2 separate regions of the Homo sapiens genome follow, and region 2 is linked to region 1. The links are contacts of gene promoters, found by promoter capture Hi-C in blood cells and fetal thymus (Javierre and others, 2016). All regions are on one chromosome and are shown on one strand. Each heading gives the region's core, a stretch centred on a gene start or on the middle of the fragment in contact. The rest is flanking DNA. Distances are from core to core; before and after follow the strand shown. Region 1 holds the start of PCDHB6 (protocadherin beta 6). Region 2 overlaps PCDHA1 (protocadherin alpha 1).

The links. Contacts are between HindIII fragments. The CHiCAGO score rates a contact against its expected background, and 5 or more counts as called.
Region 2: a fragment that was not itself captured here is called in contact with the fragment with the promoter of PCDHB6 in region 1 in 1 of 17 cell types (M0 macrophages); the score reaches 5.6 in M0 macrophages.

Annotation. Positions count from the first base shown.
Region 1 is chr5:141,148,518-141,151,782 of GRCh38, reverse strand. PCDHB6 (protocadherin beta 6) reads right to left here and starts at 1,726. Exons shown (of 1, transcript NM_018939.4): 1 at 1-1,726. The coding sequence starts at 1,525. It also overlaps PCDHB@. The HindIII fragment of the contact is 6,099 bases long and covers 1-3,265 here.
Region 2 is chr5:140,891,751-140,894,976 of GRCh38, reverse strand. All of the region lies in intron 1 of PCDHA1 (protocadherin alpha 1), which reads right to left. All of the region lies in intron 1 of PCDHA2 (protocadherin alpha 2), which reads right to left. All of the region lies in intron 1 of PCDHA3 (protocadherin alpha 3), which reads right to left. All of the region lies in intron 1 of PCDHA4 (protocadherin alpha 4), which reads right to left. It also overlaps PCDHA5, PCDHA6, PCDHA7, PCDHA8, PCDHA9 and PCDHA10, and 4 more genes. Among named protein-coding and RNA genes, the nearest start is that of PCDHA13, 11 kb to the right of the region's middle. The HindIII fragment of the contact is 1,307 bases long and covers 1,270-2,576 here.

The DNA.
Region 1 (3,265 bases), core at 477-2,976:
CGTTGTCCGCGTTGATGGAGACCAGGGAAGAGAGGGGCAGGTGCGGGTCCTGGGGCGGCAGCAGCGAGTAGGTGACCTGGGCGTTGATGCCTGAGTCTCTGTCTGTGGCGCTGACGCTGCCGATGTGCAGGGCGGGGCTGTTGTTCTCGCGGACGAACAGGGTGTAGGAGGTTTGGGTGAAGGCGGGGGCGTTGTCATTGACGTCGGAGACCTGCACAGTTATGCTCTGCTGGGTTTTCAGCCTTGGTGTCCCCAAATCAGTGACCGTGATAGTGATGTTGTACTCGGCTCTGCTCTCTCTGTCCAGCGCGCCTTCTGTTACCAGGGTGTAGAAATTCTCCACGGAAGGTCTTAGTAGAAAGGGGAGATTGTTCTCTATTGAACAAATAACCTGTTGGTTATGTCCAGAGTCTGCATCTGAAACACTGAAAACTGCCACTGTGATCTCTGGTAAGTTTTCTGGGATGAGGCTGATGAAGAACGACATGGTGAGTTCAGGGGCATTGTCATTCACGTCCAGGACCCTGACGACTAAAGAGCATTTTCCTGATAGGCCTCCACCATCTGTAGCCTCAACATCCACGTCATAAGACTGAATTTCCTCAAAATCCAAAGCCTTTCTCAGCCGAATTTCTCCTGTGATTGCGTTTATTTCGAAGGGTTGGTTGACGTCATCGACTTGAAACAGGGCGTAAGATACCTTCCCAAACGATCCTGCATCTAAATCTCTGGCTGAGACGGTAATAACCAGAGAGCCGAGGGGGTTGTTCTCAGGGACTTGTGCTTCATAGAGCTCCTGAGCAAACTCGGGGACGTTGTCATTGATGTCCAAAACCTGGATCTGAATCTCGGAGGTCCCTGACCGGGGCGGAGACCCGCCATCCAGCGCGATCAGCGTTAGCCTGAGTTGGGGCTGCTCCTCGCGGTCCAACGGTTTGTCTAGCACCAGCTCCGGGAACTTCCTGCCTTCGCTGCGATTGCGGGTGAGAACGTGGAAGTGAGGGTTGGAGCTGATTGTGTACCTCTGAAGGCCGTTGCTGCCGGTGTCTAAATCGTGTGCCATTTTCAAAGGAAATATCTTTCCTGGCATAGTAATTTCTGATATTTTCAGGAGCATTTCTCTGGCAGGGAATTCCGGGGCGTGGTCATTTATATCTCTGACTCGCAAGGAAGCCTGAAAAAACTGCAAGGGGTTTTCCAGTAACACTTGGAAAGGTAGCACACACGGCTCAGTGGAGCCACACAGCTCCTCCCGGTCCAGTTTTTCATTTAGCAGTAAATCATGGGTCTGTGGATCAAACTGCAAATGTTGTCTGTTCCCTTTGAAAACAACCCGAGCGCCCCGCGAAGCCAGCTCCCCCACCCTCAGTCCCAGGTCCTTTGTCAAGTTGGCCACAAACGTGCCACTTTCTGTCTCCTCCAATACGGAATACTGAATCGATTCAGAACCCACCTCTCCCCAAAGCATCAATAAAATGAAGAAAGCCACTTGCCTTTTCTTGTTCTGTACTTTAGTTTGCATCATGTCTATTATGTCTGAATACGGAAGAAAAATCCTTTTCAGCTCCCAATCACCACATCTACCGTCGACCCTCTCGGATGTCTTTGCAGAGATTTTTAAATTCGTTCTTACAACTTGTCTGGCGACGACTGCCTTCCCGGACACATCTATCTCAGCTTTAGCTGTAAACGTGGTCTGTATTTTTACTTGGCTTCTGGATGAAACGGAGTCCACCGAGTCTGCAGAGCTTTCATTCACTCTCTTAGCTTGTACCGCCACCACGCGTTCAAACTAATAACTTCATGAGATGTTTTCAGGTCAATAGCATTTCAGAAATCTGAGCATTATAAAGACTTTTAAGTCGAGTCAGTGTTTCTCAAACTGAGTGCGTGGACCGCATGCATAAATAATTGCTTGCGAGCGTTGGTTTTTTTGTGTGTATGTTTTTGTTTTTAAGCCAATTCCTGGGTTCACTCCCCTCTAGAACTTGAATCAAATTCCCTGGTGGTGCTAATTAAGGAGAAAGATTGAAGTGCAGATTCTACACTTCAGTCTTTCTCCTTTGATGCTTCAGCAGTGCAATTTATCTCTGATGAACTATTTAATCTATTAGTCCAAGAGGTACACTATTTAATTGTCCCAACAAACAATGCAAAACAACGAAGTTTGTTAGCAACAATAATGGTAAAATAAACAATAAATTATCTAAATTATATGACTCATAAATGGCATGAAAAAAAAAACCTACTTTGTTATATAGTTATGCCTGCACAGTAAAAAGAACAATTAGGCTATTAGGAGGAAAACTGAGGCCAAGAAGTACGTATGATACATGTATCTAAGTAAATTAAAGTATTTAAAAGAGGGACTAGAAGCAATCAAGTAGTTGTCATAAGCATTTTAGGATTCTACTCCATTTTTGCATGGATAGAATTAGACATTGTTTTAACAGTCTTGTGCATTTTATTTTTTGATCAAATTCCCCTCTTACATTATTTAATCAAGGTCCAAATATATTACCGTGTTGTACAAACATGATGCAACACAGAAAACAAACATTCAAGAATCACCTTCACCGTCTTCTCACAGCAAAAAGAACACCAAGTCCAATAAATACAGGCCAAATTAAGGTACTGTTAAAACAGGTGAGTTACATTTGAGTGAATGCCATGGAATTCAATGATGGAATATTATGGCTATATCCATTCCCATCTCACTAGTTTCTACTCAGATACATTGGAACATGTATCTCTAAACAAACTGAAAATGTGTGAAATAGATTAGTGCACATAGAAGAGGTAAAATATGCCAAACAATTCAATTCATTTCAGATTAATTTCATATTTATTGAGAGGTGAAATCAATTGAGTTCAAACAAAGTTCACTTCAGGTAAGGGCCAAGGTGATAGAAGATTAAAAATCAAGATATTTTCAAATACATAAATGCTAGGCAAAACAAATAAGGCTAAATAAAATCTAAACTCTGAATAGCTGAGATGATCTTGTAGTTCAAAATCACCTCTATGTAGCCAGAAAAACAAAAGATTATGAATGTGACCAGCCTCCAGGGTTCACTTGATAGATGCTACTGGGAACACACTGTTCCTTGAGAATGTAACAAAATGAAATTATGAAATAAACCAACAATAATAAACATATTGGACTGGTGTCATCTCTTTGCTGAAACAAGGCCATTATTTCCTGCTCAATCTTAAATGCTTCCTTCTTTCGGTGAGCATTCTGAGTTCTGATTCCAGCTTAACG
Region 2 (3,226 bases), core at 674-3,173, 260 kb after region 1:
TAAGACATTAAAAAATTATATTTTTATCATTTCATGACAATAGCTGAATAGAAATCTATAGAGCAACAAAGATAGGAAAATTATCCTGGTCTGTTTCTTCTAAAATTATGGGGGAGCACTTTTCATATAAAAATGAGCATAAGAAAAGGATTATGGGCAAATCTGATATAAAATTATTTTTAAAGGAGAGGACAAATAATTACACTAAAGGAAATAAATACACACAAGAAAAAAAATTCCACAAATTGCTACGTAATATTTGAAAACAACTTAAACATTTTTAGAAAATAATGAAAAGCTATGCAAGAATACACAAATCAGAATTAGAGAGACTCAGTAATGATATGATTGGAGAAGAAAAGCTTTGAAAAGAGAGATGAGAAAACTCAGTAAAATATTAAAAAAAAGGAAAATAATTTTTTCAGAAGTAAACACTAAACCAGAAGGCACATAACAGCATATAAACACTATGGATAATGCCTAAAGAAAACTATAAGATGAAAACAAGAATAAAAAGTAAAATATTTTTTAAAAAAGAGCTAGGTAGGATTTAGGAGTGTTAGCTACAAAAGAAAAGCAAAGAATATCTAATACAAATATAATTGGAGCCATTGAAGAAGAAATCTGAAGTAATAAAACAGAAGAAATACTAAAATCTATAATTTAAGAAAACTTTCCAGGAAAATAAACTTCAAAAATACTTGTAAATAAGCTACCACTTGTAAAGAAAAGAAAATTACATTGTCATTCAACATCTTTAAAATGAGAATATAATAGCATAGAAAAAATATATAACTATGGAAAGAAAGTCAAAATCAGGGATAATTACATAGAAGGGAATTATTTCAAGTTATTTGAAACTTCTCATCTGCAACACCAGGAGCTAGAAGATACTGGAATAAAATAAATGTATTTAAAAATCAATTCAACAGAGGACTTACATTACCAGTATGCAGAACTGGTAATTTGAACCAACCATACAATTGGAGATATTTTAAAATTATAAAAGTATCTAATGACTAATAAAGTCATGCAGAATTAACAGGTAGAGATTCTGAAAAAGACCACAAATTCAGAAGGTAAAGTAACTTTCTGGCCACTTTGGATCTGGGTTGTTTCTATACAAGAGGTAGGGCATCAGGATGGCTGAGTAGTCTACGGTACCAGACTCAAGACAAGGAGGGAATTCTAAAAACGGTAAAAGAAAAGTGACAAGTCACCTATAAGAAAATTCCCATCAGACTAACAGCAGATTTCTCAGCAGAAGCTTTACAGGCTAGGATAGAATGAGATGATATATCCAAAGTGCTGAAATTTTTTAAAACTATCAGCCAAAAATACTATACCAAGCAGAGCTATACTTCAGAAATGAAGGAGAAATAAAGTATTTCCCAAACAAGCAAAAACTGAGGAAGTACACTACAACTAGATAAGTCCTACAAGAAATACTTAAAGGAGTTCTACAACTGCTTTTTTTTTCTTTTTTGTGAAGAACAGGGTCTTGCTATGTTGCCCAGGCTGGTCTTGAACTCCTGGCTTCAAGCGATCTTCCTGCCTCTGCCTCCCTAAGTGCTGGGATTACAGGCATGAGCCACTGTCCCATAAATGCTGTTGGTGGGCATGTAAATTAGCACTGCCACTAAGGAAAACAGTATGGGAGTCCCTCAAAAAACTACAAATAGAACTACCATATCATCCAGCAATTCCACTATTGGGCATTTATCCAAAGAAAAGGAAACCAGTATGTCAAAGTGATACCTGCACCTCCCATACTTACTGCAGCACTATTCACAATAGCTACTATGTGGAATCAACCTCAATATCCATCAACAGATGAGTGGATAAAGAAAATGTGGTGTATATGCACAACGGAATATTATCCAGCCATAAAAAAGAATGAAATCCTGTTATTCATGGCAGTATGGCTGAGCCTGGAGGGCATATGTTAAGTGAAATAAGTCAGGCACAGAAAAATAAATACATGTTCTCACTTATACGGCAGCTACAAAATTTTATTGAGCTCATGGAAGTAGTATTGTGCTTATCAGAGGCTGGGAAGGGTGAAGGAAAAGGAGGATGGGGAAAGGTTGGTTAATGGATACGAAATTATAGCTACACAGGAGGAATGGGTTGTGGTGTTTTGCAGCACTGTAGCACTGTAGGATAAATATGGTTAACTATAATTTCTTACATATTTTCAAGAAGCTAGAAGAGTGGATTTTAAATGTTCACCATGCAAAAATGGTAAATGTTTGAGATTATGAATATGCTAATTACCCTGATTTTATTATTATACATTGTATATATGTATCAAAATGTCACTCTGTATCCTATAAATATGTACAATTATTATGTACCAACTGGAAATAAAAGGAAAAAAATAGGTGAATGAATACTGAGATATACTTTTGACAGTCTCCAAGGACTAGAGAAACAAAAGTCAGAATCCTGAGTCTACCAGTCATGGTGGAACTTCTTAAACAATCTCTCATGTTTGGCTAGGAAACTGAATAACCGTACTTAAAGAATACATGTAAATTTTAGATAATGAGGTTTTATCTAGAATACCTGAAGCTTGAAATAGATTAAGATTACCCATGATTGCTAGTGCCCCAAGATGCCTGGCAAAAGTCAATTAAAATCCATTCTGGAGAAAGAAAATGTTATAAGCCCCAAATTATTTCCAGGAAGAAGTGTTTAATACAACTTTCAGCACAAAATCAAAGATAACCAGGTTTATGTGGAGACAAAACACCATAAAGATACAATTTTAAAACACACCACAGGAATAGACCCATGAGGATCCCAGTTACTGGACATATCAGAAATAGACGCTAAAACCATGAGCTTATTGTGTTCCAGATATAAATGCCAAGCTTGAAAGTTTCGAGAGGAAACTAGAAATTATACAAAGTAACAATAAATTTGAAAAAGAATAAATAAAAGTATCTTAGACCATTTGTGCTGCTATAACAGAATGCCACAGACTGAGTAATTTATGAGAACGGAAATTTACTTCTCACAATTCTGGAGCCTAGGGGAAGTCCAAGATCAAGGCACCAGCATCTGGTGAAGATCTTCTTGCTGCATCGTCACATGACAGAGCCAAAAGCATAAGAGAGGGACAGGCTCCTTCCATCAAGTCCTTTTACAGTGCCGTTAATTTATTCATGAGGGCAGATCCCTCATAATCTAAACATTTCCTGAAATTCCCCACCTCCCAACA